Linked DNA regions of Homo sapiens: region 1 is linked to region 2. Evidence: promoter capture Hi-C in 16 types of primary human blood cells and fetal thymus (Javierre and others, 2016). All regions are on one chromosome and are shown on one strand. The core of a region is centred on a gene start or on the middle of the fragment in contact, and the rest is flanking DNA. Distances in the headings are between cores, read along the strand shown.

Region 1 (7,109 bases), core at 4,079-6,578, 410 kb before region 2:
AGTCTTAATCACTTGTTGTCACAAATTCTGTCAAAGTCTAGGAGTCTGGTAGTGGAGGCTAAATACTGAAGTTTAATTGCAGCCAGCTATTTAAATCAAGGCACCACTGTTTTTAAAATGTCCTTATTAGCAGTACTTTGAAGAGAATGAAAAGAAAGCAACCAGATGGCTGGCTGAGGGTTGTGGTAGGTCTGAAGTGTTCCTTACTCCAAGGCATGCCATTAAGCAGCAGACTTCAGGATTCTAAAAACTACATCATGAATCATGCTGTTAGAGATCATCTAACTCAAATCTTACTTTATGAAAGGAAACAACTAGGTGTTTATTACGTACCAAGCATGGTTTTGAACAGTACCATTAAAGTATTCTCATTTTAAGGTGACTCAGAAATACTAAATAACTTTCCCAGAGCCATTTTTGGTAGCACCGGAGCTTGGATTTGACTTTTTATTTTATAATTACTATTTTTAGAGATAGGGTCTCATTCTGTCTCCCAGGCTGGAGTGCAGTGGCACGATCACAGCACACTGCAACCTCAAACTCCCAGGCTCAAGTGATTCTCCCATCTCAGTCTCTCAAGTAGCTGGGACTAACAGGTGCGCACCACCATGCCTGGTTGTTTTGTTTTGTTTTAGTACAGACAAGTTTTTCCTATGTTGCCCAGGCTGGGGAGCTTGGATTTAAACAAGTACGTCAGGTGCCAAAGCGTTCTTTCTTTCCATGATAACGAGGCCCAGGAAGAGAAACTGACCAGAGTCATACAACTTGTTAGTGGCAGAGAGAGGATGTCTACTTAAACCTGGAAAAAGTCTATGGCCAAAAACACACACAGAAGCATATAGGAAAAGGACTGATAAGTAAACAACTTCGGTCTTCCGGTGTGGTTTGAAATGATTGGAATTTTCAATATAATCTCTTATTCAATCTTCAAAATATATTGGTAGAATATACCTGTAACTTGTAATCAATATTGTATTTGAAGAATATCTAAGTGTGGCCACCCTCTTAATAGAACTATTAATTAAAAGTTTCTTCTCTTAAAAAAAAAAAAACTATTTTGTAGTTTGAAGGAAACAGTCTTTCCCAAACAACTAGAGATGTTTTCTGAAATCTGACATCAAGTAGCATAACATGGAAGGCTCATTAGGTTTAAAATAAAACAAAAGAGCAAATTACCCAATTTTGGAGATACTAAGAAGAAATAGATTTGCTGGCAATAAGCAACAATGGAAAAACGGACTTTTACTCAGAAGTTCTGAAATGAATGTCAAGGGGCTGAAATCTGGCAATAAGGGGCAGGGGAGTTGGGGGTGGGATTATTACTTCCTATACTTACACTGCAATGAAAACAGTAGGGAAGTTGAAATCAGAAGATTAGGCTTCTCCACTTGTTAACCTCAGGATTTGGGCCAGATGCTGTTTATTCTCTATTCCAGACATTACCTGCCCACTTCCCACTCTCTCTTCCCTAACAGAATTGTAATACTTTTGTTTGAGCAGCTAGTGGAGATCTCTTGTTGTCTCTCCTCCAGTCCAAGGGAATGAATCAAAATTGGTCTAAACCAGTCATAGTTAATCCCATTCCCTACTGCCAGTGATTGGTTTTAGGATGGGTATGTGAACAGTTCTGGACAATAAGACTTAAGGGAAAAATCTGTTGGGGAGCTTGCATTTCTGGGAAAAAATTAAAAGACAAGCTTAGCTAGGAAAGGACTTTGGCCCCCGCTTCTTTTTATTTGTAAAGATAAGATAGAAGTAGAGTGGCAGCAGCCATCCTGCAACCATAAGGTGACAAGCAAGAGAAGGAAAAGCCACCATTCTAAGGATGGCAAAAGAAAGGATGCAAACAGCCTGGGTCCTGAATGAAATTGTTTAGCAACTGAATGAACCCTGGAACATCCTATCAATAATAAATGTCCTTGTAGTTTAAACTACAGTAAACTGATAACAGCAAATTAGATTGTTTCACATCAATATAATGTTGCTAATGTGAGTTTGGGGATTTTTGTAGACTTAATTGTATTTAAAGAGTAAATCTACTGAGTTTCACAATTATTTAAGAGTACTATTGAATTTAAGTAATATTAGATTGAATATAACTTAGGTCAATACTTGGAATCTGAAATATATTTCCTTCAAAAGGGATTCATACAAATTGAAAGATACCATATTTCTTCAAGGAACATTCAACATCATAAAAACGTTTATTCTAAATTAATGTTTGTATTTAATGTAATCCCAATAAAAATACTATCAGGATTTTTTTCTGGCACTAGTCTATGGGATTAGAAAGTTTATTTGTGAGAAAAAAACAAGAGGAACCACGAAAATCCTCAAAATGAATGAGGGGTAAACAACCTCTACCACCCATCAAAACATATTAATAAATCCTCTAATTAAAAGTACAGTAGTGGCACGTAAAAGAAACTCCACAGACCCGGATTTATATAGAAATTTGGCATATGACAAAGGTGTCATTTTAATCAGTGAGAAAGAAGACTTTTTTTTTTTTTTTTGAGACAAAGTCTCACTCTGTGTCCCAGGCTAGAGTGCAGGGGCATTATCTTGGCTCACTGCAACCTTTGCTTCCCGGACTCAAATGATCCTCCAGAGTAGCTGGGACTACAGGCACACACCACCACACCCAGCTAAATTTTTGTGATTTTTGTAGAGAAGAGGTTTCACCATGTTGTCCAGGCTGGTCTCCAACTCCCAAGCTCAAGTGGTCCACATGCCTTGGCCTCCCAAAGTGCTGGGATTACAGGCATGGACCACTGAGCCTGGCCAGGACTATTTCTTTATTGTAGTGAAATTTACGTAATGGGTAAAGGACTAAAAAATTTAATAAATGATGAAAACAACTAGATAGCCTTTGGATAAAAATAAAATGTCTTCTTTTCCTCACTTTGCATATCAAGATAAACTTCAAATGGATTAAAAAAAAATTGGCTCATGCCTGTAATCCCAGCACTTTGGAAGGCTGAGGTGGGTGGATTACCTGGGGCCAGGAGTTCAAGAGCAGCCTGGCCAACATAATGAAACCCCGTCTCTACTAAAAATACAAAAATTAGCTGGGTGTGGTGGTGCATGCCTGTAATCCCAGCTACTTGGGAGGCTGAAGCAGGAGAATCGCCTGAACCCGGGAAGTGGAGGTTGTAGTGGGCCAAGATCACACCACTGCACTCCATCCGGCCTCGGTGACAGAGCAAGACTCTGTCTCAAAAAAAAAAAAAAAAAAAAAAAGGACACTACACAGGTACCAGGAAAAAATATAAATGATTCCTTTATAACCCAAAAAAAGGAAAAGCCTTTCTGTGACTCAAGATCCAGAAGCAATACATGCTGGGAGGAAGGGAAGATGCTAATGAGTAACGAGTTTATGGGAGGATGAAAATGTTCTGCAATTAGTGGTGGTAATTGTACAACTGAGTGAATATACCAAAAATCACTGAATTGTACATTTAAAAGAGTGAATTCTATGGCATATAAATTTAACTTTTTAAAAATCTAATGAAAAAATAAAAAAAAAAACAGAAATACTGGGATTTGATTATTTTAGTAACTCAATTTGTGACCTTGAGCAAATCACTTCACTTTGCCCTTTATTTCCCCATCTGTGTGAATAGCTCATTAAAGCCTTCCTAAGAGGCCTGATATCCATAATAAATTTAAGAAGATGGATGAAAGACTATCTAATCAGATATGAATAAACATACAGCTTGTGGGGACAAAAAAGCTGATAACATAAGAAACTGAAAGGAGAGCTTCCACATAAACTATGAACCTTCTTCACAGTTCTCAATGTATAATTATCTACTAGCTATCATTCTTTAAGAGCTTATGTGTCAGTGTCAGGAACTATAAGTGCTTTTTATGTATTATCTTATTCTCACAGCACTCTCAGGTAAGCAGAAGTATTCTCATTTTAGAGATAAGAAAATAGACTATGAGAAGTTAAATGACTCGACCAATGTAAATACCTAAGTTGGGCTTCAAACTTAGATCTTTGTCACTTCAAATATCAAACCCTTCAATGCAAGCTATAGAAAGAACAATGGACTAAAAATACGAAGTCCTGGGTTTGAATGTTGTTCCTGCCACATAATGATTCTGTGATCTTAGGCAAGTCAATGAACATTTCAGTTTTCTCATTTATTAAAAGAAAATATTAACTCCTGCCCTAGTTTACCTCATAGAATATAAAAAGGGACTACTATATACATGTCAGTTAAATCACTACAGAGCTGGGCATGCTAGCATGTATCCTCAGTCCTACCTACTCAAGAGGATGAAGTGGGAAGACTGCTTGAGCCCACGAGTTTGAGGTTGTAATGCACCAAGATTATGCCTGTGAAAAGCCACTGTACTTCAGCCTGGGCAACACAGCAAGACTCTATCTCTTGCAAAAGAAAAAAAAAGGAATTTAAGAGATAATAATAGAAAAGTAGAACTTTTTTTTTTTTGAGATGGAGTTTCGCTCTTGTTGCCCTGGCTGGAGTGCAATGGCGCGATCTCGGCTCACCACAACCTCCGCCTCCCAGGTTCAAGTGATTCTCCTGCCTCAGCCTCCTGAGTAGCTGGGATTACAGGCATGTGCCACCACGCCAGCTAATTTTGTATTTTTAGGAGAGACGGTGTTTTTCTATGTTGGTCAGGCTGGTCTTGAACTCCCGACCTCAGGTGATCCACCCGCCTCGGCCTCCCAAAGTGCTGAGATTACAGGCATGAGCCACCACACCTGGCCAAAAAGTACAACTACTGATAAACCAAAAACACGTTGAATAATGAATGGCTTTAATATTTTATAGTTCCTCTAATAGTAATAGTATATACGAAAGCAGTGACTTTCAAAAGATACTTCTCTCAAGCACACCAGGGGTGCAAAGCAAATAGGGATCTCAAATCTACTTTAGTCAGAGTAGCTCTAAAAGCTTTAATAAAGAAGTTCAAAACCACTGTTTTTGGCAACATCCATTGGCATCTATTAAAAGGAAGAGTGACACCAGGATTTCAGGCCTTACCCAAGAGAAAATATTAGTGTACTGAAAAGTGAATGGATTCTAGAGACTAAACTTAGATTGAATCCTAGCTCTGCTACCTACTAGTTGGGTTACTTTTAATCTCTGGGTCTGAATGTCTTTACCCACAATGCAGGAAAATATTCACCATGCAGGTCTGTGGACACATTAAATAACATAAAGTTACCATTACAATGTCTGGCACACAGTACTTACTTTAAAAATTGCTATTATTAAATTATCCAACAATACTTTGGAATTACTAAATCTAATCTGAAAAACTGAATTATGGAAACTCATGAAAAATCACCAACTCAGAATATGCACCCTGAATATGCAAACATGCCTAAATAATGTTTAGTGAAATTGAAGGCAAGAGATCATGAAAAATAGTTAAGAGTAAGCCACACAAGAGACTATCAAGAGAACAGGACTAACTTGTGAGTAACATAGATAGAGTGGAAGAATGGAAGTTAAGAAAAAAGCAAGTAAGCATAAGGAGACATAAAGAATGCTTTGAAATTGGTGTGAGACTTCATAAATTACGACTGAAGAAAAAGACTGAATCCTAGATTATATGCAAATGAGTAAGATACACAACTCAAAATAAGTATCCCCAGATGACAATTATGACTCCAAAATACACAATGGGTCTCACAGTCAAGAGACCCAAGTCCTAGTCCTTAACGGCCCTACCGCTAAGCTTCTAGGGTACCTTAGGAATATCTGAGTCTCAGTTCCCTCATTTATTAATACATTCCCTTATAGAATACAGAACTCTCTGAATATTGGGTTCCTCAACTACATGAAGTGGTGAAATGAGACCATGTCTATGCTTTCTCTCAGCTTTATGATTCTAAGGAGAAAGAGAATCTATATTATTACTACCATGAGACTTAGATGAAGCCTGCTTATATACCAATAAAGTAGAAAAGAAAGATACGGGAAAATAAGCCATTTGAGGACCACACAAATATTCGCCAATATATGCTCTTCTCTTCACAATACTATCATAAAGAAAGGCCTTTCTAAAGAACTTTCTTTTCCAGGATAAGCAGTTAACCTAAACCAAGAAGACCAAAGCATCTTTTTAAAAAGGTAAGTTGTCCAGGCACAGTAGCTCACTCCTATAATCCCAGTACTTTGGGAAGCCAAGTGGGGCAGATCACTTAAGGCCAGGAGTTTAAGACCAGCCTGGCCAACATGGCGAAATCCCCTCTCTACTAAAAATACAAAAATTAGCCGGGCGTGGTGGTGCATGCCTGTAATCCCAGCTACTTGGGAGGCTGAGGCACAAGAATCACTTGAGCCCGGGAGGTGGAAGTTGCAGTGAGCCGAGATTGTGCCACTGCACTCTAGCCTGGGCAACAGAGTGAGACTCTGTCTCTAAAAAAAAATAAAATGAAAAGTAATAAAAAATAAAAACGATAAATTACTAACAATTATACAATCTTCTAATCAGCAGATTTTCCTTTTTTTTTCTCTCAGTATCTTCATTCAGTTCTTCAATCTTCAGAGAACTTGTTTCTCCAAGATGAGAAGCTGAGCTCTAATTAAGCTTATCTAAGGAATGTATAATTATTAAAAATCTGATTTTCTTATGTATTTGTATAGAAGGGTGCTGGTATACTGAAAAATCAAATTTATTTTAAGAAAGGCAGCAACTAAGATATTTAACAACAATTAATGTTACATTAATATTAAACTCCAGGTTAGTTTTCCCAAATAATGTTATGGGTCAGTTTCCAAATTCTCTTTATTCATGTTATAGTCCAACTTTTCTGTCTTCCAAAGCCAAAACAATCTTCACTTTACCTTCTATGTAGCCTTCTACCTCTATTGTGCGTCTATCTCTCTATCTCCTCCTGCTAAAGTTTTCTCATTTTTCTACTGCGTATCATAGCAGGTCTCCACTCAATTCTTAGTTTCCTTCCCTGGTTTTTCCACCCATTTTTCCCATTCCTTTACCCCACTGTTTTATAGGATTCTCCTTTCTTTTCATCCCTAGGACTTACTGTCACAGTACTGCATCTCCTACTCTCGCCTCCTTTTTGATAAGTTTTTACACATATTACTTCTTCAGAACCTAAG
Region 2 (6,495 bases), core at 3,105-5,604:
CTAGTGTCTGTCACTAAGAATAAGATGAAATTGACTGGGCGCAGTGGCTCACGCCTGTAATCTCAGCACTTTGGGAGGCCAAGGCAGGAGGATCACTTGAGGTCAGGAGTTTGAGACTAGCCTGGCCAACATGGTGAAACCCCGTCTCTACTGAAAATACAAAAATTAGCTGGACATGGTGGCACACTTCTGTAATCTCAGCTACTCAGGAGGCTGAGGCAGGAGAATCGCTTGAACCCAGGAAGTGGAGGTTGCAGTGAGCCGAGATCGGCCACTGCACTCCAGCCTGGACAGAGTAAGACTCTGTCTCCAAAAAGGAAAAAGAGAAATTTCAGCCAAGCACAGTGGCTCACGCCTGTAGTCCCAGCACTTTGGGAGAGCAAGATGGGCAGATCATCTAAGGTCGGGGGTTCGAGACTAGCCTGACCAACATGGAGAAACCCCATCTCTAGTAAAAATACACAATTAGCTGGGCGTGATGGCACATGCCTGTAATCTCAGCTACTCAGGAGGCTGAGGTGGGAGAATTGCTTGAACCCGACAGGCGGAGGTTGCGGTGAGCCGAGATCACGCCATTGCACTCCAGCCCGGGCAACAAGAGCAAAACTCTGTCTCAAAAAAAAAAAAAAAAAAAAAATTCAGTCCTCCTGCAAGAAGTTTTGTGTCTCTCAGGGCAGAAGATAAGCTATAATTTTATTACAATTTCTGTGTGATAGATTCCCTACATACTCCTGGGCTTCAATTTAGATATGACCTTTAAATAGATAATGAAAGCTGCTTTAGGTACTTTGAATTTGGAGCTGTGAAGACTGTCCTCTCCCATTGTTCCTAATTTTTAGTTACAAGATCTGTTCTCAGCATCTTTTTCATAAGTAATGGTTTAGGAAAGAAGTATCAAATTACATGACATATTTTTGGGTAATGTTCTCTTTCTCCAAAATGCTCTTAACCTTCCTTCTCTGCATGCCCAAATCCCATTCATCCTTTGAAGACAGTGAAAAATAATTCCTCTTTTATTTGATTTTGTCAGCAAACATCTGCTGCATGCTTACTATGTAGCAAGCACTCTTCAAGCACTGGGGATACAAGATGAGATCTGACCTCGTGGAGGTTACAGTCAAGTAGGGAACACTGACAATGAACAGCAATTAAGAATAGGATACAATAGGACAGGCAAAGGTACTTATACTGTTAGTGGGGATGGGAGCAGATGGGAGCAAGACTTGTGTGGTAGACTGAATGTTTGTGTCTCCCCAAAATTCATATGTTGAAACTATAGTCCCCAATGTGATGGTATTAGTAGGTGGGACCCTAGGGAGGTGATTAGGTCATGAGGGTGGAGTGCTCATAAATGGGATTAGTTCCCTTGTAAGAGGGAGCCCAGAGAGCTTTCTTGCTCTCTTTCTGCCATGTGAGGGCACAGTGAGAAGATGGTTGTCTATGAACCAGGAAGTGGGCCTTCACCAGACACAGTATCTTCTGGTACCTTGCTCTTGGACTTTCCAGTCTCCAGCTGTGAGAAATAAACATTTGTTGTTTAAGCCACCCAGTCATGGTATTCTGTTATAGCAGCCTGAATGGACAAAGACAACTTCTTTAAGTGGTAAGTGATTTAAAAGAAAAAAAAAAAAAGACAATTTCTTTAACTGAAGGATGAGTAGGAATTGGGGAAGAGTGGGGAAGGGAGGGGAAGAGTGTTTGCAGTAAAGAGAAGTGAGCGTAGGAAATCATGAAGGTGAAAATGTTGGTGAAAATACTCTTGAAAAGGGCCTCTCTAATTCCTCTTTCTCCTGAGTAATTTTTCCATTTGCTATACCCTACAGCACTTAATATGCAATGTTTAGGCCATAAAGTCTCTGAAGACAAAACTTACACAGAGTACTTGGTAATATGAAGGCAGCTTCAGAGGATAATGAGGCTGTGTATGTGTCAATGCAAAATGAAAGCTTAAAACATTAAAACATTTTAGGTAAGAGGTGGACTAGACCATAAGGCCCTTCAAAATGACAGGGAACAGTACCACCTGTCTAGGTGACTACAGAGACCAAAGCAGCAGGGAGGACTGATTCATAAAGTTCTGTAGGAAGTACAAAGTAATTATAGTTCCAATCCTCAGATGTTACTTTAAAGTCTATTTCAGGAAGCATAATGAAAACTTGGTACCCATCAGAAAGAAAATAGCTACTCACTTTTGTTTGCATAATCTTTTTAAAAAGTTTCTTGGTTTAAGCTGCTCTTTGTATGTGCCAGGGTTCTGGGTTAATGGTGGAGAGGACCCTATTAGATCTGACAAACTACTTGTAAAATCAAATGTCCATGCTACAAGCCAGGTTTTTACCATTTTATTTTAGATGCATGTTCTACCTGCACATGGCTGGGAGAGGAACCAGAAGGGAGTAAATTTTGATAGAGATGGTTTGAGGATATAGCTGTTGTCTTGATAGGCCAGAATAGATGATATTTTAAGAACTTTGGTTCTTCCCTGTAATTTATTCTAGGTCAGCAATTCATCCCTGGGCCTGAGAAGGCACTTTTTCAATCCTGTCATTTCTACAGCTAAGCAAATAACTCCCCAATAATGAGAAAAAGTACATAAATGTTTTGTGAATGATATACACAAATGATATACATTTGTGTATAGACACAAATGTAAGGACATATTTTTTATTATTCACTTAGAAAGTTTTTTTGTTTTTTTTTTTTTTTTTTAAGACAGGGACTTGTTCTGTCACCCAGATTTCAGTGTAGTGGTGCCATACCTCAGCCTCCAACTCCTGGACTCAAGCAATCCTTCTGCTTCAGGCTCCTGAGTAGCCGGAACTACAGGAGCACACCACGATATTCGGCTATTTTATTTTTTGTAGAGATAGTGTCTTGCTTTGTTGCCCAGCCTGGTCTCGAACTCCTGGGCTCAAGCGATTCTACCGCCTCGGCCTCCCAAAGTGCTGGGATTACAGACGTGAGCCACCGCGCCCAGCTGCTTTATGGATTTTTTTTTTTGGAGACAGAGTCTCGCTCTTGTTGCCCAGACTGGAGTGCAATGGTGTGACCTTGGCTCACTGCAACCTCCGCCTCCCGTGTTCAAGCGATTCTCCTGCCTCAGCCTCCCAAGTAGCTGGGATTACAGGCACCCGCCACCACACCACGTTAATTTTTTGTATTTTTAGTAGAGATGGGGTTTCATCATGTTGGCCAAGGCTGGTCTGGAACTCCTGACGTCAGGTGATCCACCCAACTCAGCCTTCCAAAGTGCTGGGATTACAGGGATGAGCCACCACGCCCGGCTTTTTTTTTTTTTTTTTTTTTTTTTTTCTGTTGAGATGGAGTCTCGCTCTGTCGCCAGGCTGGAGTGCAGTGGTGTGATCTCGGCTCACTGCAACCTCCGCCTCCCGGGTTCAAGCGATTCTCCTGCCTCAGCTTCCCGAGTAGCTGGGACTACAGGCGCGCGCCACCACCCCCAGCTAATTTTTGCATTTTTAGTAGAGACAGGGTTTCACCATGTTGGCCAGGATGGTCTCGATCTCTTGACCTCGTGATCCACTCGCCTCCGCCTCCCAAAGTGCTGGGATTACAGCCGTGGGCCACCGCGCCCAGCCCGCTTTATGGATTTTGCAAGTCATTTACTCCCTCTAAGCTTCAGTTTCCTCATCTGCAAAATTGGGAGGCCATGATTCTGGCAGTTATAACATTCCTGGGAGCAATGGAGGAGAATGTTATTTAGTAAGATGCCTGTGAGGAATTATGATGAGAGGATGGAGAAGGTGGGGTGTGTGCAATGGTGAAGAAGGGATCTGAGGACTGTGAGGCACGGCTGAGGGCTCAGGAAAGAGGCTCCCATTACAAATTTTAAGGCTATAGGACCCCACCCACACTTTTTGGGGGATCATATTCCACCTTTGTCCCGGCCCCGCCTCCGCCCCACCCTTCTCCCCCTCCCCTTTCTTTCCTTCCCCTCCCCTCAGGCTGAGAGGCGCCACACTTCTTATGGCCGCCACAGTGCTCCGCTTTCCACAGCTCGAGGGCTGCGCGCGCTCTCACGCTGCCACCTCACTCGCGTGTGGGCTCGCCCTCAGCCCCTTCCGATTGGCTCATTATGTAAGTGACGTAAGGGCTCCAGCCTCCCACTAACTTATCCCTGGCTTGCCCCGCCTCCTCCTGGCTTCTTTTGACGCCAGTGGAAACCTAACCTGCCCCGTCGCCGCCGTGCGGGAGGAGCCGGTAGAGCTGTCCAAACCAGGAAGGCGATGGCGATGGCGGTGGCGCGCACGCATGCACGCACGCACGCACGCCAGCGGCCGGCGGGGCCGCAGGCTCGCGCCCGGGCTCGCCCCGCGCCGCTCCAGAGGCTCGCGCACTCAGCAGGTTGGGCTGCGGCGGCGGCGGCAGCTGTGGAAGCTCAGGCGCTGCGCGTGAGAGGTCCCAGATACGTCTGCGGTTCCGGCTCCGCCACCCTCAGCTTCTCTTCCCCAGGTCTGGGAGCCGAGTGCGGAAGGAGGGAACGGCCCTAGCTTTGGGAAGCCAGAGGACACCCCTGGCTCCTGCCGACACCGCCCTCCTTCCCTTCCCAGCCGCGGGCCTCGCTCGGTGCTAGGCTACTCTGCCGGGAGGCGGCGGCGGCTGCCAGTCTGTGGAGAGTCCTGCTGCCCTCCAGCCGGGCTCCTCCACCGGGCCTTGCAGGGGCCGAGAGAGCTCGGTGCCCGCCCTTCCGCTCGCCTTTTTCGTCAGCTGGCTGGAGCAGCATCGGTCCGGGAGGTCTCTAGGCTGAGGCGGCGGCCGCTCCTCTAGTTCCACAATGTCCACGGGCGGAGACTTCGGGAATCCGCTGAGGAAATTCAAGCTGGTGTTCCTGGGGGAGCAAAGCGGTGAGTGCGTGGCTCCCCTACTCCTGGCAGCTGGCCGCAGCGTCCCCGCACCGCCCCCGGTGCGGCCCTTCCGTCCGCGGAGGCTCCCTGCCCGCCTCGCGTCCGCGCTCGTTGCCACCGCAGCCCTTCCCGATGTGCCCCCCGGTGCCACTGGCTCTTCGCCAGTGGCCGAGTTTTTACCCTGTTCCCCGGGTTCTTCAATCCTCGACTCCCCGGCTCCGTTCCCCGCAGTCCGGCCATCTCCGGTCGATCTGCCCTCCCTCCCCAGACCTCACCCCGCCCAGCCTCTTGTCCATCCCTTTCTTCCTCCGGTCTCGGTCATTGCCCGTACCCCGGCCCCCTTTCTTGAGCCCCACCCTTATTCCTTGCTCTTTTCCCAGTTCCTCAGCTCTGTGAGGCCCACTCAGGGAAGCCCCACTCCCGAGAGCGGGCCCTCTTCAACCTTGGCCAAGGAGGGTGGGATCTGGGCGTTGTTTTCCCCAGAGGCTTGGCCCTGCGAAGTGCTGATGTCGTGGAAGGTGGGAAGGGGTGGTAGTAGAAAAAATTAAATGATTTTCACCTGGGTGGGAAATTAGTCTGGGCCATAGAGGAAACATCTGAATTGGAGACGACTTGAGCATGGGGTGGTTGGGGGTGAAAGGGGTAGCGTCGGCAGTGGAGATTTTTGCCCCTTAGGTTAGATGGGGCTGTGGCTTGTCGGAAAACCTCATTTTGTTCTCTTGACTTTCATCACTGACAATTCTTTTGGCAATGTTGATGATTTTTCAATCTCTGCCAGATGCTATGTCATGATCATTTTACTTGGAATTTTTCTCATCTCACCTCCCCTTTTTCTCTTTTCAACATGAAGCAGCGTCTGAGTCTCATGGTGGTACAAAAGGGAATTACTGGGGAAATGTTAATTATTCATTCCTTCTTGAGTATTTTCCAATGATATATTGAGGATTCATGTGAGAGAAGGCTTGGAATAACAAACATCTTTGTTTTGTCGGATTTCCTTTGGAAAATGGAGTAGAGTAGGAACAGACTCATCATCTAGTTACCTAAATTAGATTTAAATACCATTTGGGCTAAATAATTCTTTTATGCTTAATATTCTGTACTGTCTGATGAGTGAAATTGTTATGTCATTTACCTGGTCAGGTTCTGCTGTCACTGTACTTTTGTATTAGATACTAGATCCTAATTTTGTGATGGTTGTATCTACGATTACTTCTTGTAGTAATTCCAGTTTTATGCTGTATTATACAAACTTGACACTCGACAATTCAGAGATGATTACCCTCCTTTGTTTTTCTCATACTTTGCATGCCCATCTTTAAAATTCAGACATTGAGAGATTAGTTCTGAGTCATCAAACATTGAGTACCTACTAGGTGTTTTAGGTGAGGTTATAGAAAACATTAGTTATTTGTTTTGACTGGAAGGCATGTAAGTGATATAAATTCGTAGCTTTTATTACTACTTTGAACTATTTATACTAATTTGTATGCCATCACAGAGGTTAATACTCTTGCAAAATTGCCTCCAGTTAGAACTGGGAAATCATTTTTCTCCTTTCATGTGTAGATTATCTTCCCCTCCTCCCTTTTGGGGGGAAAAATACAATCTCCCTCCTTTTTGCTTATATATT

What was found. Contacts are between HindIII fragments. The CHiCAGO score rates a contact against its expected background, and 5 or more counts as called.
Region 1: a contact is called between a fragment that was not itself captured here and the fragment with the promoter of RAB6A in region 2, in 2 of 17 cell types (non-activated CD4 T cells and total CD4 T cells). The highest score is 6.2, in non-activated CD4 T cells.

Annotation. Positions count from the first base shown.
Region 1 is chr11:74,172,856-74,179,964 of GRCh38, reverse strand. The region is part of intron 1 of PPME1 (protein phosphatase methylesterase 1); the gene reads right to left. Among named protein-coding and RNA genes, the nearest start is that of PPME1, 5.1 kb to the right of the region's middle. The HindIII fragment of the contact is 790 bases long and covers 4,934-5,723 here.
Region 2 is chr11:73,758,933-73,765,427 of GRCh38, reverse strand. It overlaps RAB6A (RAB6A, member RAS oncogene family), which reads left to right and starts at 4,354. Exons shown (of 8, transcript NM_198896.2): 1 at 4,354-4,862. The coding sequence starts at 4,793. LOC124902711 (a long non-coding RNA gene) reads right to left here and starts at 4,270. Exons shown (of 2, transcript XR_007062775.1): 1 at 4,188-4,270; 2 at 2,328-3,691. RefSeq lists silencers at 3,747-3,936, 4,097-4,406 and an enhancer at 4,703-5,203. The HindIII fragment of the contact is 8,881 bases long and covers 3,637-6,495 here.